Regions from separate parts of the Homo sapiens genome. Here regions 2, 3 and 4 are each linked to region 1. The links are contacts of gene promoters, found by promoter capture Hi-C in blood cells and fetal thymus (Javierre and others, 2016). All regions are on one chromosome and are shown on one strand. The core of a region is centred on a gene start or on the middle of the fragment in contact, and the rest is flanking DNA. Distances in the headings are between cores, read along the strand shown. Region 1 holds the start of ALDH1B1 (aldehyde dehydrogenase 1 family member B1). Region 2 has its middle 54 kb from the start of SHB. Region 3 has its middle 37 kb from the start of SHB. Region 4 overlaps SHB (SH2 domain containing adaptor protein B).

Evidence for each region. The method cuts DNA at HindIII sites, captures the fragments that hold promoters and counts their contacts. A CHiCAGO score of 5 or more calls a contact.
Region 2: a fragment that was not itself captured here is called in contact with the fragment with the promoter of ALDH1B1 in region 1 in 1 of 17 cell types (naive CD4 T cells); the score reaches 6.1 in naive CD4 T cells.
Region 3: a fragment that was not itself captured here is called in contact with the fragment with the promoter of ALDH1B1 in region 1 in 4 of 17 cell types (total CD8 T cells, naive CD4 T cells, megakaryocytes and 1 more); the score reaches 6.3 in total CD8 T cells.
Region 4: a fragment that was not itself captured here is called in contact with the fragment with the promoter of ALDH1B1 in region 1 in 4 of 17 cell types (non-activated CD4 T cells, naive CD4 T cells, naive B cells and 1 more); the score reaches 7.2 in non-activated CD4 T cells.

Annotation. Positions count from the first base shown.
Region 1 is chr9:38,390,665-38,395,525 of GRCh38, forward strand. It overlaps ALDH1B1 (aldehyde dehydrogenase 1 family member B1), which reads left to right and starts at 2,038. Exons shown (of 2, transcript NM_000692.5): 1 at 2,038-2,143. RefSeq lists a silencer at 1,805-2,124 and enhancers at 2,335-2,384, 2,425-2,514. The HindIII fragment of the contact is 5,526 bases long and covers 1,491-4,861 here.
Region 2 is chr9:38,119,335-38,126,607 of GRCh38, forward strand. No RefSeq gene overlaps it. Among named protein-coding and RNA genes, the nearest start is that of SHB, 54 kb to the left of the region's middle. The HindIII fragment of the contact is 2,135 bases long and covers 4,777-6,911 here.
Region 3 is chr9:38,103,517-38,109,934 of GRCh38, forward strand. No RefSeq gene overlaps it. Among named protein-coding and RNA genes, the nearest start is that of SHB, 37 kb to the left of the region's middle. RefSeq lists an enhancer at 4,295-4,474. The HindIII fragment of the contact is 2,334 bases long and covers 3,317-5,650 here.
Region 4 is chr9:38,049,354-38,056,844 of GRCh38, forward strand. All of the region lies in intron 1 of SHB (SH2 domain containing adaptor protein B), which reads right to left. Among named protein-coding and RNA genes, the nearest start is that of SHB, 16 kb to the right of the region's middle. RefSeq lists an enhancer at 1-570. The HindIII fragment of the contact is 472 bases long and covers 4,285-4,756 here.

The DNA.
Region 1 (4,861 bases), core at 788-3,287:
CTCCCAGCCTTAGCCAGTTCTGCTTTTTCTGGGAGTTATTCCTCTGTATTCTTCACTGGTCTGGCTCTGCCTTCTAGGACCCCACAGATCCTATCTGGTTTTGCCCTTCAGAGATTTGGACGGCACAGCCTTGTCTTTCAAGTTCTAAAGGGTGAACATCCCAGTTCCTTCAGCTGCTCCTCAAGGGGCACAGCCTCCAACCTTGCCGCATGGGGGTCACTTCCTGTCTGCAGCTGGCCTCTCAGACCTGCCACAGTTTCCAATGCACTCTAACACGAGGACTGATACTCATTTTGCCATAAACTCACTCCCTCTATCAATGAGGCCTCTTAAGGATTGGTCAGTTAATCATTAAGTCAATCAGTCCTGGAGTGCTATGCCAAGTGCCCAAGGGGAGCTAGGCTGTCCACGTGCTGTGGGGGAGGCAGGAGGGCCTTGGCAAGGGGCTCATGCCGTTGCTGGAGAAACCCGAGGAAAGCATGGGCATCAAGGTGATAAGATGCCAATCATAGTGCCTTCATGGATGGCTAACTTTTGCAGCAAGGGCTGTGAACATGCTAAGGATGATATGGTAGCAAAAGATTCCATAGAGATGTAGCTTAAGGAAAGAACTAAGTGAATTAGGTCCAAGCAGTCGCATGTGAGCACCCTAGATCAGTGGAGAGGCAGGGATTTAATACAAGGAACTGGGTGCTTACAGACCTGCTGCAAGTGCCGGAGGCAGAAGCAAGCCTTAGCCAGACCAGGACCAACTCTCAGGACAATATGGACGTGGCCCACCAGCCTCGTGCCTGTCTGAGGCTACTTCAGACACCCTCCTGCAGCCTCCATTCAAAGAGCAGGAAGCCAGGTCAAGGAGCGGCTACAGCCACAGCGGCCGGTCCACAGCCAGAAAGCTGGAGAAGGGACAAGGAATGCTGCCGCAGAACATCTCCCATTTCTGCTATCCTGCTAGTGCCACCCTACAGGGGCAGGACAATACCCTCCAATGCGTGCCCGCCTTCCACATCCGGCAGAGTACTACTAATTGGCAGCACCTAGTCCACATCCAGAACTCTAACTGCAAATGAGGCTGGGAAACATGGCGGTTAGCTTTGGGACCTCCCTAGCCAGAAGGAAGGTGCAGCGAGGGTGGAGCGAGTGAGATGCATGTTCAGTGGTCCATCTTGGCAACCTTTATAGCAACAAAATGGAGACAATTAAATGTCCAACAGTTTACCCCTACAACAGAATTCTATGCCACCTTGGAGAGGATGATGTCATCTGTAATTAGTGATAGGAGAAAACTTCAAAATACAGCGCTAAGTTTTTAAATTTTTTTTAAAGCAGCACAACAGAGGTTACTATATGATTTTATTTTTATTAAAATAATTTTGAAAGATGCAGAGGAAACAATACTAGCAGGACGAACACCGTAATAATGGCTACCGTAGGTGAAGAGATTACAGGTGATATTTTTCTTCTTTTTTCATCCTTTCCTGTGTTTTCCAAGCTTTCTACACTGTGCATACATTCTTTTTGTCCTTAGGACAAAAATGTACTTTGAAAAATGCCCAAATATAAAATCTTCTTGAAGGAACTGAAGAAAGGAGCAGTGAAAGTGGAGGACAGAAATTAGTGAATCCTGGACAAAAAAAGTGAGGGAGAGGCGAGGCAGAGAAGGGGTTAAGGGGAGTCTCAAGGATGGCAGTCGATTAAGCAGCGTCTTGCAGCGGGGAGAAATGCAAAGTGTAGTTGGGGTTCGGTCTCCGAAAACTTTGCTGTGTGACCTGGGGAAGCCCCTGCCCCTCTCTGGGTATCTCTGTTTCCGCTCCCAAACCAGTGCCTTAGGAGCCTAGATCTGAGCAACGTGGACACTGGGCTTGCGGAGACCCGAGGGAGGGAGCGCTGAAGCGGTGCGGGCTGCCGGGGGTAGAGGGGCGGGGACCGGGAAAGACCGGGCGGGGCGAGGGAGGAGCGGCCTTGGCCGGCGACAGGACGTAGGCAGCGCCCCAGGCGCAGGCGGAGCCTCATTGGCCGCTGAGCCCCGGGCTGCGCGGAGGCGGGACCTGCGGCCAGCCCTGGGCGGCCATGTGGACAGAGCTGGGAGGGCCGGAACCAGAACCCAAGCGTGATCCTGAACCGGAGCCCGAGCCTGCTGCAGGTAACTAACGCTGGTCTCCCCTCGGCTCCCTCGGGAAGCCGCAGCTCCTGGCTCCGCGTGGGGGCTTTCCTCTCTGGGCCGCGGCGTCCGCATCTGGGGGCTGGCCTTTCCGCCGTTGCACTGTAGGACTCTCTCCACGTCCCCTAATCCCATCCCCCGCCTCTGGGTGACGCTACAGGAGCCCCGAGGACACAGACGCCCCCAGACCTTACCACGTTAGCTCGACCTCAACACTCCTGCCCACTCGGCCCACTTCAACAGAGGGCCCCTGACCATAGCCCAGAGGCTTGGACAAGCCCAAAGGTTGCGCCCTTTCCCCCGCAGAAGGGGTGAGGTGGGCGCCGCTGCAGTTCCCGCGGATAGAGAAGGTCCGGTCCTTCCCGCTGTGGGTGAACTGTAAAAAATTGCCTGTATTCAGGAGGATATGCAAAGCTAGGTTTGTGGAAGTCTGGGGTGAGGCTCCTATACTTTCTTGCTGTGTGTCCTCGGTGAGTCCCTGAACCTCTCTGATGCCCAGCCTTCTTCCAGAATGGGGGTCATCATCAACCCTGACCACCCAGGGACTGCAGAGAGGCTTGGCAAATTTCCCGTGAGAAGACAGCCTGCAAACTGTAAAGCATGATGCTCTGTGAGCTGTGATCTTCCTATCAGCAAGTGGAGGCCCCAGCAAGAACCCCATATAGGCCCCAAGAGTAGGAACGGCCTTGGTGTGGCTGCAAAGGTTTGCCAGCCTTGGCCTATGACCACCTCTCCTGACTGCTTCACCCCTCCAATCCTTACCCCATGGGTTGGTGACTCCCCTTTCCCCTACCTCCTTTTGGTCTCCTCACCCTCAGAGCCAGGCCTGTTGGTGGCAAGGGGGCTGTGTCCCAGCATATGGCAAAGTCCTGAGCTAAATGGAACCCTGGGCACCCCTGGCAGATCTGCTGACTCAGCTTCCCCCTGTGGGATATGATGAGGTTTCTCTTCAAATAATCTGATCAATCTTTTATTCTTTAATTCTTAGTATCCCCCCCTTTTTTTTTTTCATTTTTCTCCTTTTTGCCTTTGTTAGATGCCCAGGCATGCCACAGTACCAAGCGTTATCAGTACCAGCTCACATTCCTTTGCTTATTTGGAAAGAAGACTAACTTTCTAGCTCATTACAGACACCCTTTCCCCTTTCTCTCCACTTTCTTTTACGTGCCCACTCTATCTAAAATAAATCAAATGTTTAGCCAACCGGGATTAGTTTAGATTGTACGACCTGACCCCAGCCAATGGGGAAAGGGTACAGGGGCAGGACTTGCATCAGGAATAAAGGCTCTCGTGCCCCTTTGTTCAGGTGTGCTCTCATGGCAACTGGCCAAGGAGGCATCCCTCTGCGCAGAAGTAAAATTGCTTTGCTAAGAATCCTGTGTTCGAGTGTTCAATTTCCTTAGGATTTTGAGCATTATTCCTAACACCCGCAAGGGGAAGGGAAACTTTCTTGGTCAGCATTGATTATTATTATTTTTTTTAGATACAGTCTTGTTCTGTTACCCAGGCTGGAGTGCAGTGGCACAATCATGGCTCACTGCAGCCTCAACCTCCTGGGCTCAGGTGATTGCCCCCACCTCAGCCTCCCAAGCAGCTAGAACTACAGGCATGCACCACTATGCTCGGCAAATTTATTTTTGTTTTTTTGTAGAGACACGGTTCTTGCTATGTGCTCAGGCTGGTCTCAAACTCCTGGCCTCAAGCAGTCCTTCCACTTCGGCCTACCAAAGCGTTACCAGCGTAAGCCACCACGCCCATCACATTGATTTTTATGGGGCCGGGGACCTACATGGAGCCTTGCTTTCCTGATTGAGTTTTTTGTTCCTCTCCCTGCCCAGGGGTGGAGGGTGAGAGGCTGGGGGTGAAGGGACAGGCAGGTGCAATTCCATTTTACCGCTGGGCGGAGCAAGACTCATGAGACATCAAAGGCAGAGAGATTCAAATTCTGACTGAAGAATAACTGCTTCAACTAATCTGGGAACACTACACTCTGTTTAATTTTCATTTAATATGTATTATATGCCGTTTAAGTTTTATAACAGTAGTTGTTTTAACGAAGTCTACACTCTTCAGAGTTGTAGCTTTTCTTCTCAGCTGCCTCCTGACTTGCTGCACCTCTGGGAAAGCTGAAAAGGGATGCTGAGACCTGTGGTTGGGGGATGCTGGGCTAGGTCAATTTCTGAGGCACGGCCAGTTCTGATGTCCTGAGTGGAGCTTGCCAGGGTTTTTATATGCAAGACATCATTCAACATAACCCCATGAGGCATTTCACATATGGGGGAACTGAGGCACAGAGGTGAAATGAAGCAAGTCCCTCTCAGAGAACAACCATCTCCAAGTCCCTTTGATTTCTACTCAAGTCTTAGGTCAATTCTTAGACAGCCTTTGTGGCAATTTCAGTGTTTTCTCAGTGTATCATTCAGTACTGTGTGTTGAGCCGCTGCTCTGTAGCAGGCATACCTCTAGGCTCGGGGACGTAGCAGTGAATGGAACAGAAAAATAAGTTCCTGTGCTCATGGAGCTTGCATTTTACTGGGGGGAGACAGACAAACATATAAGCCTGTAAAGATAGTATTTGGGATGTGAGATAGAGAAGGAGTAAAGCAGGGTAGCGGGGATAGAGAGTGTTGGGGTGGGAAGGGTTGCAATTTTTTAAAGGGTGGTCAGGGAAGGCCTTGCTGAGACAGTGGCTTTTGAGAC
Region 2 (7,273 bases), core at 4,594-7,093, 270 kb before region 1:
CCATATTTCTTGTGTATCATTATCCATCTTTCTCCCTCCCAAGATGAGGGTGGTTTTCTTAGTGAATTTTGAAAAGCGTGATATCTTGATCTAGTTAAGAACAAACTCTAAGGAAAAACACGATAATAATTTTTTTCTTCATGCCTTGAAAACCACCTGAGTTTTGCCATGGATTTATTCACTGTTTTCCTATGAGCCATAGCGGTAGAATGATCAGAGCATTGTATTGTATTTCTTTGCAATTTCCCTGTGCTGGGTTGCAGGTCTGGAAAATGATAGATGCCTAAAATTGATCAGGGTAATCGATGCTACGTGAAGTATTTACACATGATGGATGTATCATCTGCCAGATGTGGGTGTTGGCAACAGCTTGCTTGTTTATAAAACCCCTGAGATCCCATTTGTATGAGTGACTAATGTTTGCACACAGAGCTGTTGGCTGTGTTTCTGAAATGACTATTTATTCGACATGATCACCTTTCTCCTTTACTTCCCCATTCATCACAAGCCCTGCTGCTCTTTCCTACATAACAAAATCAGAGTTTTATTCAATCTTCTTTCTCCTTGAACTCTGTGATATATGGAGGTGGTTTTATTTTGCATTTCCAACTGGCTTCCAGTCTTGCCTCCCCTCTGATTTGAAACTCACATGTTGCTGGTGTTCTGTCATGAGGCTTTAACTGCACCTGCAATATAGACTCTAAACCCCCAAGGACAGCATTTAGAGTCTTCCCCAGCCTGGCCTCAGCTGACATTTCCAGATGTACATTGTACCGAGGACTCCAGCACTGGAAAGCGATGTTCTTTTTATAAGTGACCCAAGCTCCCTAGCTTATACTCACAGGGATATTTACTGACAGGTCCTGGCATAGGACACAGAATTGGAGAAAGGCCTGCCTGAACCAGCCCAGCTCTGGGGACCTCTGAGACTGAAACTAGGGTCTCCAAAACCATGAGCAACTGTCATCTCCCCGTTTCTGCTTGTCTTGTGTAATGGCCTCATTCTCTCCTGAAGACAGGTTTTCTCTACATAGTAGGAATGTGGCCCTCATCAGTCTAACTCCTCATCAAGGAAAGTGTTTTCTCCCTGCTGCTCTAGAGGAGGGACACTGGTTAGCCTGGATTGGGTCAGTGCAGCCCTGGACCGGTTACTAAATCTGGGGGCTGGGGAGTTGTAACTGACCTAGCCAGCATCACTGGCCTGACTCTGTGGTCAGGAGGACGGCGGAATAGACTCTTAGAAGAAGGGAGGAGAAGGAGTAGGCACGGTGGCTCCCATCTATAATCCCAGCACTTTGGGAGGCTGTGATGGGAAGATCGCTTGAGGCCAGGAGTTCAAGATCAGCCTGGGCAACATACTGAGATCCTCTCTCTACCAAAACAAAAACAAACAAACAAACAAACAAAAAACCAGGCAGGTGTGGTGGCATGCGCCTGTAGTCCTAGCTACTCAGGAGGTTGAGGTAAGAGGGTCACTCAAGCCCAGGAGTTGGAGGTTGCAGTGAGCTATTATCACATCATTGCACTCCATCCTGGTTGATAGAGTGATACAGTGTCTCTAAAAAAAAAAATCAAGAAGAAGAACAGTAGGAGGAGGAAAGAAGGAGGAGGAGGAGAAGGTGGGAGGGGGAGGAGAAGGAGGAGGGAGGAGGGGAGTGTATCGGTCAGACAGAGCTGTGGCTACGTTCCTGCTCTGCACATCCTAGCCACAGTGCATGTGCCATTAGTTAAGCACTTACTGGGCACCAACCTTCTGTGCCAGGCTCCAGCCTTTCTTCAATGGAGCTCACAATCTGATGGAGGAAACAAATGCCCAAACAGATCATTCAAGTGCAGGGGGTAGAGTGCACCAGTGTTGGCGACTCAGTGTGTTGTCAGAACCTGGGCGGGAGGCTTTGAACTCAACCTCTTCAGTCAAGGAGGCCTCCTGAAAGAGTGACAGGGACCCCAGTCTTGGAGGGAACAGAAGGAGTGAGCTAGGTGATGAAGGAGGAATGTGCATTCCACGTGCGCAGCAAGGTGAAGGTGTAAGACCAGGCCTGTGCCCAGGAGAATCAGCAGCTCCGGAAGGTTAGGGCATGGAGTGTGGAGGTGGACAGGGACAGGAAGGGTGGGAGGGCTTGGAAATGCCTCCCCTTTGGCCTTGGCTCTTGCCTGTCCCTCCTGCCATCCACACAATGAAATCTGACTCAGCCTCAAGGCAAGCTCTGCAGCAGACCTGCCATTTTGAATCCTTCAGTGGAGAATCACAGTGTCCTCAGGGATTCTGCGGCATCTTACAGGTGCCTCTGTTCTAGACTTTCATGTTCTGCCTTGCTTTCAGTTATTTATTTACACATCTGAGGTCCTTTACTACATCAAAAGACCCTTGAATGCAGGAACCATGCCCTAAACATCCTTCTATCTTACACAGCTCCTTGTTCAGTGTTCAGAAAATAACTGAATTGTGATCACTTGGCTAATTGGACAGTTTTTCCACCTTGGGAGCAACTACCAAAATGACATTGGTTTCATGTAAGTTGAAAGAATTTTAAAAGTTATCTATTAACATTTTTTCAACATATCCAATTTTTTTATATATATATATATATATATATATATTCAAAAACAAAAAGAGCTTTATGAATTTTATTGATTATAAAGTTGATAAATATGCATAAAGAAAATGTAAATGATACACAAAAGCATAAAGAATAAATTTAAAATCACACAAGATACTATCTCCCAGAGGCAGCCACTGTTTACATTTCAGATAATCTTTCAGACATTTCTCTATAAATCCAGCTATTATTAATGTATAACTTTATAAAAAGGTAGTAAAAAATGCAACATAAGCTAGCCCTCAGAGTAATAAGTTCAAAAGAATTTAACAGTTGAATAAAATGTGTTTTTTTTCTTTTCGATAGCCTAAATGGGTTCTCTGATGTTCCCTGAGGGATTAAACAACCACTCAAGATTTTCTTGGGAAACTTCTACCTGCTTTCTGTCTCTCTTTTCTTGAGATAAAATTGACCTGCCGTAAAATTCGCCATATAAAGTATACAATTCAGTGGTTTTGAGTATGCTCACAGGGTTGTGCAACTATCACCACTATTTAATTCCAGAACATGTCCATCGCCCCAAAAGGAAATGACATACCTTTTAAGCAGTCACTACCCATTCCTCTCTCCCTCCAGCCCCTAGCAACAAATAATTTCTTTTTTTTTTGAGACAGAGTCTCATTCTGTCACCCAGGCTGGAGTACGGTGGTATGATCTCGGCTCACTGCAACCTCTACCTCCCAGGTTGAAGCAATTCTCCTGTCTCAGCCTCCCAAGTAGCTGGGATTACAGGCACCTGCCACCACGCCCAGCTAATTTTTGTATTTTTAGTAGAGATGGTGTTTTGCCAGGTTGGCCAGACTGATCTCAAACTCCTGACCTCAAGTGATCTGCCTGCCTTGGCCTCTCAAAGTGCTGAGATTATAGGCATGAGCCACTGTGCCTGGCCACTAATTTAGTTGCTGTCTCTATTTTATTTCTGTCTTTATGGACTTGCCTATTTTGGACATTTCATGTGAATGGAATTATATAATATGATGCCTTTTTTATCGGGCTTCTTTCCTGTAGCATAATATTTTCAAGGTTCATCTATGTCGTAGCATATGTTAGTGCTTCATTGCTTTTTATGGCCAAATAATATTGCATTGTATGGATATACCACATTTTGTGTATCCATTCATCAGTTGATATACATTTAGATTCTTTCAACTTCTTGGCTGTTATTAATAATGTTGCTGTGAACATTAGTGTAAAAGTTTTTATTTCAGCATGTGTTTTCACTTTTCTTGGGTATATACCTAGGAATAAAATGTCTGGGTCATGGCTAGGCATGGTGGCTCACACCTGTAATCTCAGCACTTTGGGAGGCCAAGGCAGGCGGATTATGTCAGGAGTTGGAGACCAGCTGGCCAACATGGTGAAACCCTGTCTCTACTGAAAATACAAAAATTAGCTGGGCGTGGTGGCAGGTGCCTGTAATCCCAGCTACTTGGGAGGCTGAGGCAGGAGAATCATTTGAACCCAGGAGGCAGAGGTTGCAGTGAGCCAAGATGGCGCCATTGCACTCCAGCCTGGGCAACAGGGCTAGATGCTGTCTTAAAAAAAAAAAAAAAAAAAAAAAATCTGGGTCATATGGTAACTCTGTAGTTAACTTTTTGGGGATCTGCCTATATAAGAGTTTCACTTTTTCTGTGTCCTCAGCAACACTTGTTATAGTTTTCTGGTTATAACCATCCTAGTGGGTGTGAAGTAATATATCATTGTGGTTTTGATTTGCTTTTTTTTTGCTTTTTTTTTTTTTTTTTTGAGACAAGGTCTTGCTCTGTCACTCAGGCTGGAGTGCAGTGGCACAATCATGGCTCACTGCAGCCTCAAACACCTGGGCTCCAGCAATCCTCCTGCCTCGGCCTCCCAAGTAACTGGGACTATAGGTGTGTGCCACCATGCCTGGCTAATTAAAAAATTTTTTTTGTAAAGACAGGGTTTCACTATGCTGCCCAGGCTGGTCTTGAACTCCTGAGCTCAAGAGATCCTCCTGCCTTGGCCTCCCAAAGTGCTGGGATTGCAGACATGAGCCACTGTACCCAGCCTGCAGTTTTCTAATGACTAATAACATTGAGTAATTTTTATGTGCTTATTGGCAATTTATATATCTTCTTTGGAGAAATGTCTATTTCTTCACATCCTTTGTCCACTTTGTAACTGGGGTATTTGTTTTTTATTGTTTAGTTTTTAAAGCTTCTTAAATATTATGAACCACTGTAGACCTGATTTGCAAAACATTTTTCCCCCATTTCATGGCTTTTTAACTTTCTTGATAGTGTCCTTTGAAGCACAAACATTTTTAAGTTTGCTGAAGTCCAGTTTGTCTGTTTTTCTTTCCAGGGTGTGTTTCCTGATACGTCCTCACAGGATTGATTTTTCTTTCTTTTTTTTCCTTTTTTCTTTTTTTTTTTTTTCGACATGGAGTCTTGCTCTGTCGCCCAGGCTGGAGTGCAGTGGTATGATCTGGGCTCACTGCAACCTTCACCTCCCGGGTTCAAGCAATTCTCGTGCCTCAGCCTCCCAAGTAGCTCCCATTAGGTGTGCATGGCTAATTTTTGTATTTTCAGTAGAGATGGGGTTTCACCATATTGGCCAGGCTGGTCTTGAACTCCTGACCTCAAGTGATCCACCTGCCTTGGCCCCCCAGAGTGCTGAGATTACAGGCGTGAGCCACTGCGCCTGGCCGGAATTGGTTGTTTTAACCTTGCCCCAACCAGACTGTCTTCTGCACTCTAACTGCCCCTTCTAAGTCTTCCAGGCAGCCTGGGCCCCTGAAACACTGGGATTCCTCATTACCCAAGGTTCTTCTGTGTTTCATGGTGATCACTACATCTTCACCACATAAGACACTTTGGATTGACTTCAAGACTCACCTTGACATTGGCTTGAACACTTTCTCCAACTTCGGCTCCTGTAACAAAGACTCTATTGATTCTCCCTCCACCTCTCTCTGCCCCTCTGTGACTCCACTCTGGACTCTTCATCTTGCTCAGGGTTTGCCGTACTCTCACTTTTCTCTCTCTCCTCTCTACTTTCCAGTGTTCACCTGGTTTGACTTCTTCAATGACCTCCTCTCTTTCGCTCCTTAGTGATGGAAGGCAACACAGTGAGACCGACCTGGGTTTGCAGCCTGGCTTGGAAATTTGCAAGCTGGGAACCTTGGACAAATTTATTTATAGCTCTGTTCCTTTGTTTCCTCATCTGTCCAGTAGGGGTAAGAATAATGTCTTCCAAAGGAGCTCTTGGGAGGCTAAAGGAGATATCATAAATACCCTGTGCCCATGATACGTGATAGAGTAAGGGCTCAAAGATATTCACCATCGGTGCCCCACTATCACTTCAAACTCAGCCTGTCCAAGCCAAGCTCATAATTTCACTCCAGGCTAGATCCTTCTGTCTTTTGCCCCCTTCATCCTGCTAGTGCCCTCACTTTGGGGTCACCTCCTACCAGGCCTTGTTCATTTACGATAATATCATCCCACGTGTGTCCCACATCGCCAGAGCTTGTCCATGCCCAGGCTCTTGCTTTCTTTCACCCTGGAGCCCCAGTCACCTGATCCTGCTAACTTTTGTTTCAAAATATCCCCTTCTCCCTCTTTTCTTTCCACCATCAGGGCCCCTGTCCTAGCTGTGTGCTCACTGGACTCTGAGTGGCGGAACAGCCCCTGATACCACCGTGGCCCACCTACCTCTGATCTCTGGCCTTTAGATTTGGCTCTCACAGGAGCTAGGAGTCCAGGCACCTTCCTGTGTTTTCTACAGCTCTGATTCTTTTTCCTGGCAAGTTGGGGCCACACACTAACCTGGCAAAATGTGGGAGAGGGAGCGAACTGTAGAATTTGGAGGTGGGAGCTCCTGATTGTAGACTAGGCTTGCCAGGGGATCCAGCAAGTCCTTTATGGTTTTTGGACCTTGATTTCCCCACCCGCACAGTGGAGATGAAGAATTTCTCAGTCTTGAAGGCCCCTGCCTCCTCTGATGTGTGGCGATTTATCACTTGTGGTCTCTTCCAATTACGAGGCTCATTCATGGGGCTTCTGAGAAGTCCCTTTTCGCTCTCTTCCTACCTTGACAGATTTGTCTTCTAAGGTGAGTTTCTCTTTTGCCGAGTCCTTCTCAGACCTCATTTCCTATCTCTGACTCACTCCGCTTGGCTTCTTCCCCTACCTTATAGCCTAGGGTGTGTGCGTTGATGTACAAATGTGTTCTGATAGTTGGCATAGCTTCTGCCTCTGTGTTCTCTTGGTCTTGCAGACAGTCTCTGCCTCCTGTCTCTCCTATTCCATCTCAGCCCCACACTGACAACAACCCATGGGATCTTTCTAAAGCTTAAATCTGAGCTTGTCACTCCCCTGCTGAAAAAACTTCGGTGGCTCTCTAAAGCCCCAGGATCAAGGTTATCTCCTTACCCTCCTTTTCAAACATCCCACACCCCTCTACAGTCTGGTCTCAACCTAACTGCTGTACTCATCTGCTCCTGAAGAGATGGGCCCCCGATTCCTTTGCTGATTCCATCCCTGTGCATGGAGTGTGCCCTCCTCTCACTTCTGTGTCCAGTGACATTCTGTGATGTCACCCACTGGGCCTCAGATCAGCTGTTACTTTCTTGGGAAGCTTCCCTTGATCTCTTCATTCAAATAAAAATGCTGTTACTTGTACATTCCTGCAGAATGTTATTCACTCTGCGG
Region 3 (6,418 bases), core at 3,234-5,733, 280 kb before region 1:
CACACTGGAGTATTATTCAGCCAAGAAAAGGAATAAAGTGCTGATACATACTACAATGTAGATGAGCCTTAAAAACATTGTAAATGAAGTCAGACCCAAAAAGTCACTCATTGTATGATTCCATTAATATGAAACAGTCTTAGTTAGCAAATGCATAGAGATAGAAAACAGGTTAGTGGTTACCGGTGCTGGAGGGAGAGAAAAATGAGTAAGAGCTAATGGGTGTGGGTTTCCTTTGGGGTGATGAAAATGTTCTAGGATGAGATAGTTGTGATGGTTGCTCAGCTTTGTGAATATACTAAACCCCACTGAATTGTATACTTAAAAGGTGAATATTTTGGTGTGTGAATTATATCTTAATTTTGAAGAAATGAAATGACCCATCCCAAAGCAGGAGCACTAATAAAGGTCTCATGGACTGGAATATGCTTGGCAAATCCACCAGACACAGATTCCTACTGTAAGGAGGGCCCTCACTTGCAGGCAGACAAGTCCCCTTTGGGATGGGAGGGGACTTAGATCAGAGGTCAGTGGGGCCAACCCTGAGCCCCAGCCCCCTGTTACGCCTCCCTGCCAAGTGCTCATCCGACCTCTGCTTGCTTGCTTGCCTGCCTCTTTTGACAGGGAGATCATTTCTGTTGAAGACAACCCCGTTGGTCTTAAACAACTTGATTTTTGAGAAGTTCTTTACTAAGAAAAAAAACAACTTCTTCCTGTAGCTTTCTTCTGGTTCTGTAGCAGAGCTGGTTCTGGCTCTGCCCTCTTAGACACAGAGAACAGGTCCATTCCCTCCCCTCCCTGACAGCCCTTCACGGACTGTCATACATGTATTCACTACAATCCTATGATCTGCTACTCTTTATCTTTAAGATCCTGGGCACAGCGGGCACTAGAGGGCCTGAATTGCCTTCATCAAAGCAAGAGATAATTATGTATCGCCATAATGCATTTTAAAAAATAAAAACAACCATCTACTTATGAGAGCTTTCCTAACAAAACAAATCTGAAGACCAAGAACTAAACTAGGAAGTTCTTTGAGCCTTTCAAAGTGGTGTCAGAGTATGGGCACTTAAAAAATAGATTCTGTCTAGCCTTTATTTTTATTTTTATTTGTTGATGGAGTCTCACTCTTGTCGCCCAGGCTGGAATGCACTGGTGCGATCTCAGCTCACCACAACCTCTGCCTCCTGAGTTCAAGCAATTCTCCTGCCTCAGCCTCTGGAGTAGCTGGGATTACAGGTGCCTGCCACCACGCCCAGCTAATTTTTGTATTTTTAATAAGGACAGAGTTTCACCATGTTGGCCAGGCTGGTCTTGAACTCCTGACCTCAGGTAATCCACCTGCCTCAGCCTCCCAAAGTGCTGGGATTACAGGTGTGAGCCACCATACCCAGCCCTGCCTAGCCTTTTTACTCTTTGTTTACATATAGTTCTAACACATTTGGCTGCCAGATTACTAGGCCATGGTGAATCCAAAAGGAGATGGAAGCTTCTGGAGGCAGGCTCCTCATTCCACCCTTTAAGTGATCTTGACTCATCCCCCTATTGGTTATCCCATACAAAGCTGCTGTTGGTGCCTATGCCGTCTGTGAAATTGTTCTAGGTCACCTTCAAATGGCCTGCCCTGTACTCCTCATCTTCCATTTTCCTGATTCCTATCCACCCCACCACTGCCCAGCCTTTTGTCCTCACACCTGGCCACTTCAATTGGTGGCCAGGTTTTGAACAAGCTATTCAAGCTGTGATTTTATTTTATTTTATTTTATTTTGAGACAGGGTCTCCCCTGTCACCCAGGAGTGCAGTGGCGGGATCATGACTCACTGCAGCCTCGACCTCCTGGGCTCAAGGGATCTTCCCATTCAGTCTCCCAAGTGACTGAGACTACAGGTGTGCGCCACCATGCCCTGCTAATTTTTGTATTTTTTGTGGAGACAGCATTTCGCCATGTTGCCCAGTCTGGTCTTGAAGTTCTGAGCTCAAGCGATCTGCCTGCCTCAGCCTCCCAAAGTGCTGGGATTACAGGCATGAGCCCCTGTGCCAGGCCAACTGTGATTTTAGTATTCAGCTTTTCCACTTACTGGTGGCATAGAAGTCACTTAACCACATTAAGCCTTGTTTTGTTTTAATCTGTAAAATGGGAATATAATGATTTCAATCGCACACATTTGTGTGTGAACGGTAGATGCCATAGTGTGTGTGAAGGAATAAGCAGTCACCAAGGGCAGCTGTTCTGATGATCTGGCCTCTGTTTGCCTGCACCATGGCAGTCGGTTGTGGCGGTCCCCAAGGGGAGACCTTGCTCTAAGCAGGCCCAGGATTTCAAAGGCAGGATTTAAGAGGACAACTGTGGTCATAATGGTAGTTGGAAAGACAGAGGTGAGAAAACTTTAAAACTCAGGCACTAAAGGACCCTTGTCTGGGTCCTTTAGCTCAATATCCCCTATCAACCTCCAAGAGTGTCATCTCCATAAAGCATCCTAGAGCCTAATGCCTGTGACTGTCCTCCCTTCATTTCCTAAGCAAAAGCGTATTGGTACTCATTTTGTGCCAGGTACTCCTGCCAACTGGAAAGGTAGAGATAGAGACCTCTGCCTTCAGGGGGCTCCCATTCTTGTTGAGCCTAAGTCAGGGGAGGAGGAAAAGAATAATAATTTATAGATACTGTTTAGGCTGAGCCTGGTGGCTCATGCCTGTAATCCCAGCACTTTGGGAGGCTGAGGTGGGCGGATCACCTGAGGTCAGGAGCTCCAGACGAGCCTGGCCAACATGGCAAAACCCCGTCTCTAATAACAAATACAAAAATTAGCCAGCCATGCATCTGTAGTCCCAGCTACTTGGGAGGCTGAGGTAGGAGGATCGCTTGAACCCGGGAGGCAGAGGTTGCAGTGAGCTGAGATTGCACCACTGCACTCTAGCTTGGGCAACAGAGCCAGACTCTGTCTCAAAAAACAAAACAAAAGACATTTTATGGTGTGTTTTAGAAAGATTTACCTTCAAAATGATTATACTTCTTAGTTTATATCTGAAATAATTATAGTTTTAAATATTTTAGCCAAGGGAAATCTTCAGTTATCATTCAATTTCGTTTAAGTGGAATGGAGAGTATCAGCTTTTGCTAGGTAACGATGAGTCACATTTAATGAGTGTTTACCATATGTCAGGCTCTATCCTAAGTGCCTTATAGTTCTCTTAAGTTCTTTGATCCATAACAGCCCTATGCAATGGTACAAATATTATTCTTGTATTGAGTATGAGGAAACTGAAACACAGAGGGGTTTAGTAACTTGCCCAAGGTCACATAGCTAATAAGTGGCAAGCTTGGATTTGAACCCAGGGAGGCTGGCTCCTGAGAGAGAAGGAGCTCGTAAACACTATATTTTAGGGTGTCCCATATAACAAAGACTTACTTTCTTTGGATTTTTTTACCAAGTGATCATTCATGTAATGTATGTATGGACACTGTCACAGAATGTGCAGGTCAGTCAGGACAAAGTGGGAAAATCGGACACTTGATATCTTGATTCCTTCCTTTCCCCTTGCGATTTTACAAAGAAGGAAATTAAAGCCCAAAGACGGGGCAGGGGACCGGCCACCACCAGGAGGGTGATGGGCTCCCTGCCTCCCTCACAGTTTTGGCCGGGTGCAGTGGCTCACACCTGTAATCCCAGCACTTTGGGAGGCCGAGGCAGGTGGATCACTTGAGGTCAGGAGTTCAAGACCAGCCTGGTCAACATGGAGAAACCCCATCTCTACTAAAAATACAAAAATTAGCCAGGCATGGTGGTGCATGCCTATAATCTCAGCTACTCAGAAGGCTGAGCGGGAGAATCACTTGAACCCGGAAGGTGGAGGTTGCAGTGAGCCAAGATTGTGCCACTGCACTCTATCCTGGGTGACAGAGTGAGACTTTGTCTCAAAAGGAGAAGAAAAAAAAAAAAAAGGGCCCAAAGACGCATAATGACTTCCTTAAGGTTACAGCATGAAAACCAGACTGGAGGTCAGAACTCAACCCCCAAGCTGGGCTTTTCCCAGTATCATTCTTCGTTCTTAATGAGCCCTGTATCAGACTCTTAAGTGGTTCTGAACTCTCTTTCTCTGTCTTTGTTTCACAGTCCAAAGTCTTCTTAACCAGAAAGTGCATTTCCTCTTCAGTACCAGTAACCCCTGGTTCCAACTGCGTCAAAAACACTCCCTAGGCTTTCTCATGGCTGTCTTACCTGCTTTGCTGGGGCTATTTATGGAGGAAGAGCACAGGATCTGTTTTGCCTTTCATCAGAGTCAGGATCAGAGCAGAGAGGCTAGGACACAAACATTGAACCCCGAGATCCGGACCACATGACTAGGGTGGCGGAAACTGGGGCCCAGCCACAGCCAAAGCCATGGGGAGGCCATGCCAGCACAGCCATCACCCCATCATCTCCTCCCCTGGCTGTTCGTCTAATCCTCAACAGTGCTGAGATGCCACAGACTAGAAAGTGCTACAAGAAACCACACGGATTTGAGTGTCACAGTTGTGTGTGAAAAATACTGAACCAACTCTGGACTGGGAGTCAGGAGGCCTGGCTTCCGGGCTTGGCTCTTCCACTGACCAGCTATGAAGGTCTGGGCAAGTTGACACGCCCCTCTGGGCCTCTGTTTTCTCATGCGTGATAAGAGGTTAATCAGCTGCTTGCCTATCCTCACAGGATTACTGTGAGGCTGAAAAACAAAAGTGACAATGCTTTGGAGATAACAAAGCAGTGTAAAGATGTAAGGAATATTGTCATTGCACTGAGCTGGACCCAAGGTAGCAGCAGCTCTGGATCTCCTGCCCTGGTGATAAAGAGTTGTAGAAAAGGCTTTATCCACTCCCTTCTGCCATACCAAGACCTGCTCCCTGGAAGAGATTTGGGCAGTGGGAAAACAGAGCCCAGCCTGGGATTGTTTCCAACACCATGTGTTGGCTCTTTGGAGCACTGTGCCAGGAGTCAGGAGCCTGGGCTTTGGGCCCTACTCTACTGCAAACAAGCTGTGTACCCCAGCTGGGCTACAGTGTGAAAACCTGACTCTGCTAGTGTGGCCTCCCCATGACTGTGCCCAGGTCACCCCAGTCACATGGTCTGGATCTTACGCCCAGCATTCCTTTCCTAGTCCCTGTGCTCTGATCCTAACCTGATTAGAGCCAAATGAATCCTGTGCTTTCCCTCCATAAACAGCCCCAGCAAAGCAGGCTGAGCTAAGTGCTGCCACGTAGCCTCTCTTGGCTTCGGTCAGCTCTAAAAGTCTGATGCCACAATCAGATCATCAGCTTGAACACAGGGAGGTGGATCAGCTCTGAGATCTGAGGAAGGGGAAAAATGGTGGAAAAATACCTACTAAGCATTAGGTCCTTTCCATGTAATTGATCTCACCTCATTTATTCAGCCCACGGTTATGCCAAGCTCTGCGGCTGGTGCCGGGTACCGGCCATAAACAAGACAGACCTGGTTTTCTGGAGATTACAGTGAAGCAGGAGAGGTGGGCGTAAAACAAATGTTCACACAAATGCAGAATGACAATTGTGGTAATGGTACAAGGAAGAGAATAGAGCTATGGGGAGGGACCTAACCAGCCCATTATGGAGCTGAAACTTGACAGAGAATAAGTAGATGCCCAGCTAGAAGGGGGCTAAGCTTCCATGCAAAGGGAACAGGCGTGAAGGCCCTGAGGTTGGAAGGAGATTGCCATGACCCAGAGACCAAGCAAGAAAGCAAGTGTGTGTAAAATGTGGTGAGCAAGAGGGGCTGTTGCTGGCACTGATGTTGAGGGCCTGGCTGAGCTCTTTCTCTTGGCTATACTCAGAAGCAGAGGTCTTGATCTTAATCTTGGCATTCCCCCCTCCACCCCCACCCCCCCCTTTTTTTTGAGACAGGATTTTGCTCTGTCACCCAGGTTGGAATGCAACAGCATGATTATAGCGCACTGCAGCCTCAAACTCCTGGGCTAAAGTGATCCTCCTGCCTTGGCCTCCCAAAGTGCTGGGATTACAGGTGTGAGCTCCCCTAATCTTGGCATCCCTTTACCTTGGAATATGAGCTCCACTGACTTAGATTTTCTGCATACAATTAGAATTTCTTATTCTCTGGACAATCTGATTTATCATATTCACCAAATTTGATAAACATTCACTTTTTTTCTGAAAAACAGAAAAAAAAGACTCGTCCCTGCTCTTCTGGTCCTTGTCTGGAGGACAGGCTGAAGAGAGGGCAGCTGGTGGGGCAGACACTTGATTAAGAAACTCAAGCAAGGCTGAGATGCATGCCACAGAAGAAGCGCAAGGGGCCAGGGTTCAAGGACCAGGTCTGACAGTTACAGGAACTTGTCGTGTTAATGGCCACATCTTTGTAATGCTTGTCATTCCCGTGTGGGAGAGTTTCCAGGGAAAAGTATAATTTAAGC
Region 4 (7,491 bases), core at 3,271-5,770, 340 kb before region 1:
ATCCCAGCACTTTGGGAGGCTGAGGTGGGCAGATCCCCTGAGGTCAGGAGTTTGAAACCAGCCTAGCCAACATGGCAAAAGCCCATCTCTACTAAAAGAATGCAAAAATTGGCTGGGTGCGGTGAGGCGCGCCTGTAATCCCAGCTACTTGGGAGGCTGAGACAGAAGAATCGCTTGAACCCAGGAGGCAGAGGTTGCAGTGAGCTATCGCACCACTGCACTCCAGCCTGGGCAACACAGCAAGACTCAGTCTCAAAAAAACAAACAAACAAAAAACAAAGCAAAAAAAAAAAAAAAAAGGAAACAGGCTCAGAGAGGTCAAGTGACTTGCCCACAGTCACAGTCTGACCCTGAACCCAGACTAACCCTGGGCACTAACACTGGCCCACACTGCTTCCCTCATAGGCCCCTAGGCAGGCCAGTATTTCAGCAGGTACCATGGGTACTTTTTTTTTTTTTTTTGGAGACAGAGTCTTGCTCTTGTTGCCCAGGCTGGAGTGCAGTGGTGCAATCTTGGCTCACTGCAACCTCCGCCTCCCGGATTCAAGTGATTCTCCTGCCTCAACCTACCAAGTAGCTGGGATTACAGGCATGTGCCACCACACCCGGCTAATTTTTGTAAAGACGAGGTTTCACCATGTTGGTCAGGTTGGTCTCGAACTCCTGACCTCAAGTGATCCTCCTGTCTTGGCCTCCCAAAGTGCTGGGATTACAGGCGTAAGCCACTGCGCCCAGCCAACATTTAAAAATTGAATGCATGATGATCTGAAACACAGCTTGCTATGGTCCCCAAGTCTCACCCTGTAATCTTAAATCCACCTGTCAATGTCTTGACCATCCAACCCCAGAACCAATGCAGGGAAATGTCACAGTCCTTCAGCAAAAGGGCTCAAGTAGTCTTTTATTCAGCAATGGGAAAGGTTCCCTTTTACCACTAAAGAACTAAGCGGCAGAAAATGCCATGCCCCAATTAAGTCTAAGGAATAGACTTAATAATGACAATCTAATTTGCTCACTCTGAATTTAGACTATGAATGCAAGGTTACCTTAGATTTCACATTCAAACCTACCTTTGAAATTCAAATATATGGATATTTTAAGGCAGCCAGGCCTCCTTCTGCAAGGGAAGCCCTGATTTCCCTTTTTGGGATTTTTTTTTAAAGAAAAGTCTGGGAAGACACAAGAACGTATGAACAAAATATATGTTTTGTTTCAGTACCCTTCACAGATCTAAAGTCCCTTCCCCATAACTATGAAGGTGGTCGTCAGAAATGTCCAAGCATAAAATGACTCTCAAAATGAATGAATGTATACAACTGAAATTTACTTTCAGAGTAAGAAATGCTTGAATATATATGGAACTAGAAGCTGCCGAATGTTAAGAAATCCAATACTCTTAAGTGTCTGCTAGTCTGTAGAAAACAGATGTAATCAGAAGAAACCATCAAAAGCAAAGGGTAAGATATTTTCAAGGATAATCATTCCCAAAAAGGCCAGGCAGATACAAAAAAAAAGAGAGATTTCTAATTTGGGGGTGATGGGAGAAAACACACAAAAAAGAACGTGCCTTCACTCCTCAACCACTGACTACAATCTTTTACTACAAACTGCTTATTTAGCATCCTCTGAATTGTCACAATTTTTGCTCCCACTGGAGGCTTCAAGTCTAATCATCTGTAAGGATTCCTCAAAACAGTTTGCCTGGATAAAGAAAAGTTTCTCTGCCTTTTCAAAACCAGGCCCACTTCTACCCTAGTTTGCAGGTGACAAAGAATCTGAGTCGAAGTTGCACACAAAATTCAAGGCAGGCCAGGCAGGGTGGCTCATGCCTGTAATCCCAGCACTTTGGAAGGCGAGGCGGGCAGATCACGAGGTCAGGAGATCGCGACCATCCTGGCCAACATGGTGAAACCCTGTCTCTACTAAAAAATAACAAAAATTTAGCTGGGCATGGTGGCGCATGCCTGTAATCTCAGCTACTCGGGAGGCTGAGGCAGGAGAATCGCCTGAACCAGGGAGTCAGAGGTTGCAGTGAGCCAAGATCGCGACACTGCACTCCAACCTGGTGACAGAGTGAGACTCCGTCTAAAAAAAAAAAAAAAAAAAAAAAATTCAAGGCAGAGGGACAAAGGGCAAGTAGGCGAGACCTCAAAGCATGCCCGGGTTGAGTGTCTGCACTTTGACAACCTTCAGGCCCAAGGCCTGGGAATATCATCCAGGCTGTGACAGCGTTCTCAGCTGTCCTGTGGGTGATGAGGAAGTGATGACACCAACTCCCACCATCTCGTCACTTCACAGTCACACCACAGATGGCTTTCAGATGATCCAGAGCCCCACAGAAGCCCGGCAAGCAGGAGCTGACTGATGGCAACATTATTCCTAGATCTTTACAAAGCGTTTCTTCTGAGCCTGTAAAGCGAGCTCTGCCGGTCAGAGTGGCCCTCTGATGGAGTGGTGAATGTGTAAGGAATTGTCCAGGGATCTTCAAGGGGCTCTTTGACTGAGCCCAGCAAACATCTTCATCGTGGCTAACATTTCTTTCCCTCTGGGGACCTAAAGGAGGCTGAGCACTTACTGTTTTTCGAAGAGCTTCTCCCTGCAAGGACGTCCTCTGAAGATCAGCATCCCGCGTTGGCTCAGAGCCCTGGTTTTCCCTTTCCCTTCTTGCACTGCTGTCTTCTGAAGACTTCAACTACGACACCAGCAACTTTACATGGCTTCTTTCTAACTGCCATCATTTGCCTGGACATCCTGGAATGTCTCTAACTCCACGAGGTGCTGCCATCAGATGGGAGAGCTCCATCTCAAGGGCAGGTGACTAGCTCTGTCCACCCCCAGAACACACACAGCCCCCTCCCCATCTCCTTAGTCCCCCACGTCTTTCCTCATGGATGGGCTGCTTGGTAGCTCTGTCCTTTCCTGCTCCATGTTTCAGCAGAAACAAGCAGTCTGACTTGTACAAGGCCTCCTCCGCCCAACTCTCCAACCAGCAGAGCCATTCCCGGCTCAGACTCCGTGACCCCAGCACATGTTCCGTCCGGCTCTGACAGAATGTGGACAAATGCTCTGATGGACTGAGTAACTCACAAACTCCCACAGAGGACGTTTCGGCTATTGACAGAAAAATCTATCCTCCTGACAAGCGCTCGGTCAATTTCTCTCGATTGCCCAGTGTCATCTGAGAGCTGCCTGAGCAGTCAGTTGCAGTATTTGAGGCCCTTGGTGCCTCTGCCTAAAGCATTCCATGTCCTCCTAACTGGGTCCCCACCTCCATGCCCAGCTTAGAGCCTCCCCACCCCCACTCCTTTCTAACTATCCCCTCAGGCTACAGACATACAGGTGTCCCTAAAGCATGAGGCTGACCCTTTCACTCACTCCCTCCACTACCTTTCTTTACCCACAGAATAAAGACCAAACTGTGGCCTGGCCCTGAAGGCCTTCCCACACCTGGCTTCTCCTCCATCATCTACTAGGGACCATTCAGAGGGCCCCTCTCCCGGGATGTCCTCCTCACATCCACCAATCTCTAAATATCCAGATCCTCCTTATGCATGAAGGCCCAGCTCCCATGCTGCCTCCTCCATGAAGCTTTCCTTGATGCCCCTTTGGCAGCATTGTCCTGAGAATGTGCCTATGGGGAGTACCTGGCCCAAACTAGACACTTTATCGACAGTAGAGACCTGTGGTTTCTATGACAGTAGAGACCTATTCAGCTGATAAATGGCCATCAGCTGACACAGAGCTGACCCGTCACTGTCCCTTGCATCTGTGTAACATAGACTGACTGCCTGGCTGGAACCCCAGCTCCAGCTCTACCCACTACTAGCAGTGTCATCTACGATAAGATACAAACTTGTTTGCCTCAGTTTCTCCATCTGCAAAATCAGACTCTTTTTTTTTTTGAGATGGAGTCACTCTCTGTTACCGAGGCTGGAGTACAGTGGTGCGATCTCAGCTCACTGCAACCTCCACCTCCCGGGTTCAAGCAATTCTCCTGCCTCAGCCTCCTGAGTAGCTGGGACTACAGGCGCTTGCCACCACGCCCAGCTAATTTTTTGTATTTTCAGTAGAGATGGGGTTTCACCATGTTAGCCAGGATGGTCTACATCTCCTGACCTCGTGATCCGCCCACCCCAGTCTCCCAAAGTGCTGGGATTACAGGTGTGAGCCACCACACCCAGCCAGAATGGGACTCTTAATAGAACTTGCCTCCTATGGGGTGTTGTGGGAATCAGTGAGCTAACATACCTCAAGCTCTTAGAACAGAGTGGTGATCCCAGGTAAAGCTTAACCGTAAGCAGACCCACCAAGATAAGGATAGGTTCACTCTCTGAGGACCACATCATCAGCCCAGACAGGGCAACCCCACTGACTTTACTGTGGCTATAGAAAGCCCAAAGTTCAAAGCTGGACTGAGGCCCAAGACACACAGGCCAAAATAATATAAAACATTCATAAAGCTCTTCCTAAATGCTAGGCATTGTGCTCAGCCATTTCAACAAATGATTTTATTTAATCCTCACAACGACCCAATGTACTTCCCCAGAACCTCATCTCCCAAATGCCTTACCATCTGTAAAATGGGGATTCTCACAGCAACACCTCAAAGACACACAGTTAAGGATCAAGTACTGAAAGTGTTACCTATGGTGACACAGAGTGAATGGTCAGGAAACACCATCTGTTACTATTCTACCTACATAGAAGATGGGGCATTCCAGGCCCAGAGAATTTTATCACTTGTCCCAAGTTACTAAGCTTCCAAGCACCAGGGCTAGGATTTGAGCTCTGGACTTCCGACCCTAAAGCCAGTGAGTGTTTCATGCCACCACAGTGGGACACACTTGGGTTCTGCTGTGTCTGGAGCAACAGCCCTGGGCTCCTGTGGTGTATGACCTTGTCAGCTAGCCCCCACAAGGGGCCAAGAAGCAGGACAGGGAATGCCCAACCCTGACATCACACTGCTTTCAGCCACGCAACCTCTGCTCCACTTGCTACCTACTCCTCTGGAATCCACTCCTGACAGCTCCTTTGCTGAGACTCCCCAAATCCACCTGGGAATCTGACCTTGTTCCCCATCCAGTCACATGCCTGCACAGTTAACACCTCAGTGCCAACCTCAACTCACCCACCGGGAACCTGCTCTAGCCTATTACTTCATGCCCACAGGAAGCTCCTAGACTTGGGCTCCATCAAGACCTCCACAGTTGTGACATCAAAGGGTCCTTGCCCTTAGCAGCTGGGGTCCTGGCTGGGAATCTGGCTCTGTGGGCAGTGTTATAGCCTGCAGCTTCTCTCTGCCTTTGAAGATACAATCGCACATCTGAGGGTCCTTATATGAGAGAAGCAAGGTTAGACTGGTTCTACTTGACCTCAGAGAGTCAAACCAAGACAGTAGTAGAATCTACAAAGAAAAAGAGTTCAACCAACGAGTTCCTGTGAATACCAGGTGCTCAAAAAGCTAGAGTAAACATTTAAAATAAAAAAAAAGTCAACCCCAGCTGTGCAAAGGTGGCCGGACAAAAGGTAACAAATCTCAACATTGGAAGTTTTCAGCATGGATGGAAGAGAGTTGGATGGGGTGATCCCCAGCTCTCTGGGACACCAAAGGTCAAGGATAGCAGCTTTCTACCTTGGCTGCAGATCACAATCATCTGGGATCTTCAAAAAATACTGATGCCCTGGCTGTATCTCCAGAAATTAATTAATCTGGGATGGGAGCCTAGGAAACTGAAATTTGTAAAATGCTATGCAGGTAATTTTACTGTGCTGCCAGGACTGGTCCTGGGTTCAGTGACGTGATGTGAGTTAGGCAGACACCTTCAGCCTCTTAGAACCACAGTCATGTTCGGCAGTGTTCAGAAATCTGCATTTTTCCTGGATTTATTCCCCATGAACACTCCACGACTTAATCTTTTCCTTTAATACCAATTTGTTTATGTCATCAACCTCACAGCAAACACTGCAGGATGGATTTTCCTAACACCAGCATGAACCAGAAAAAGAGAAACAGGCTATAGTGGTCTGGAAAAAAATCTCTCACTGATTGAAGACACGGGACACCTGGGTTGATGGTGGGCCGAAAACGGTGGGGTGCAGAGGAAGAACCTGGTGACCTGAACTTTTTGCAGGTGTTAAAAAATTTGAGTGACCAAAATCGTGTGGCCCACACAGGCCACACCTTCAAATCCTACCCATTCTGAACTCTCCCACCAGCCATACCCACCTCGCCCAAATGCTTCTCTTGTCTGCTCAGGGAGTCATTTACCTGCCTGCCTATGCTGGCAATGAATTCCTCCCTCTCCAATACCCACTCCTGGGCTCTCAGCTAGAGCACCCAGGCTTAACTGTCTCTGATTGTTCCATAGGACTCAGCCCAGTGCTGGAATATGGTTGGATGACTGAACGCTACACCCACTCTGTGAAAACTGAAACACTCGCTTGGCTCAAGCCACATGGGCAGGGCAGACCACCGTGATTGCCTCAAATACACCTAGACAGCCCAGCCTCCGGTATCAGAGGAGGATGCCGACTCCACCAGAGGCAAGACAAGGCTGTCTTGGCCACATCCCACACACCACAGCAGGTTTGGCATTCTGCTGTGGTGGGTAAAGATGAAGCCCTAGTTAATACCTAGTTACTTTCCTCAGATGTCAGGAGTTGAATGTGTAATAAGCGCATGGGTATCTGCAGAAGAAAGTTGTCATTTTATAAAGACAGGCCTTCATCATCATTATCATAATCACTGATGAGACCTAAACACTGTCAGGGCAAGATGGAGTCAAAATATTTAAGTCTCAAAAGGTACCTGAAGATCATGAGCAAGCAATACAGGGTACCCAGACACACACTAGCCATTTGGAAAATAAGATGACAACCATACCTCATACAATGAAATCAAACTCTAGGGGGATGGAAATTTTAATGTAAAAAAAAAATCCATCAAAGTATTAGAAGAAAATATAAATACTACAGTAGGGAAGACTTTGTTTTTTTGAGACAGAGTCTTGCTCTGTCTTCCAGGCTGGAATACACTGGCGCAATCTCAGTTCACTGCAACCTCTGTCTCCTGGGTTCAAGCAATTCTCGTGCCTCAGCCTCTAAAGTAGCTGGGACTACAGGGGGATGCCACCACACACAGGTAATTTTCTGTATTTTTAGTAGAGACAGGTTTTTGCCATGCTGCCCAGGCTGGTCTTGAATCCTGAGCTCATGTGATCCACCCGCCTCAGTCTCCCAAAGTACTGGGATTATAGGCGTGAGCCACCGCGCCCACATGGGAAGACTTTTCTCAGCAGCATGCTCAAGAAATCATGAAGGTGGAGACTGATTAAATAGAAAACAATTCATTGTAACCAACAACAATTGCCACATATAGAACCAAAAGGCAAATTACAAACTTTAAAAAATGTTCTGCAACCCAAATGGCAGGTAAGGGGCTGCTATTGTTAATCCACAAAGAGTTCTTACAAATCAACAGACAAAACCCTG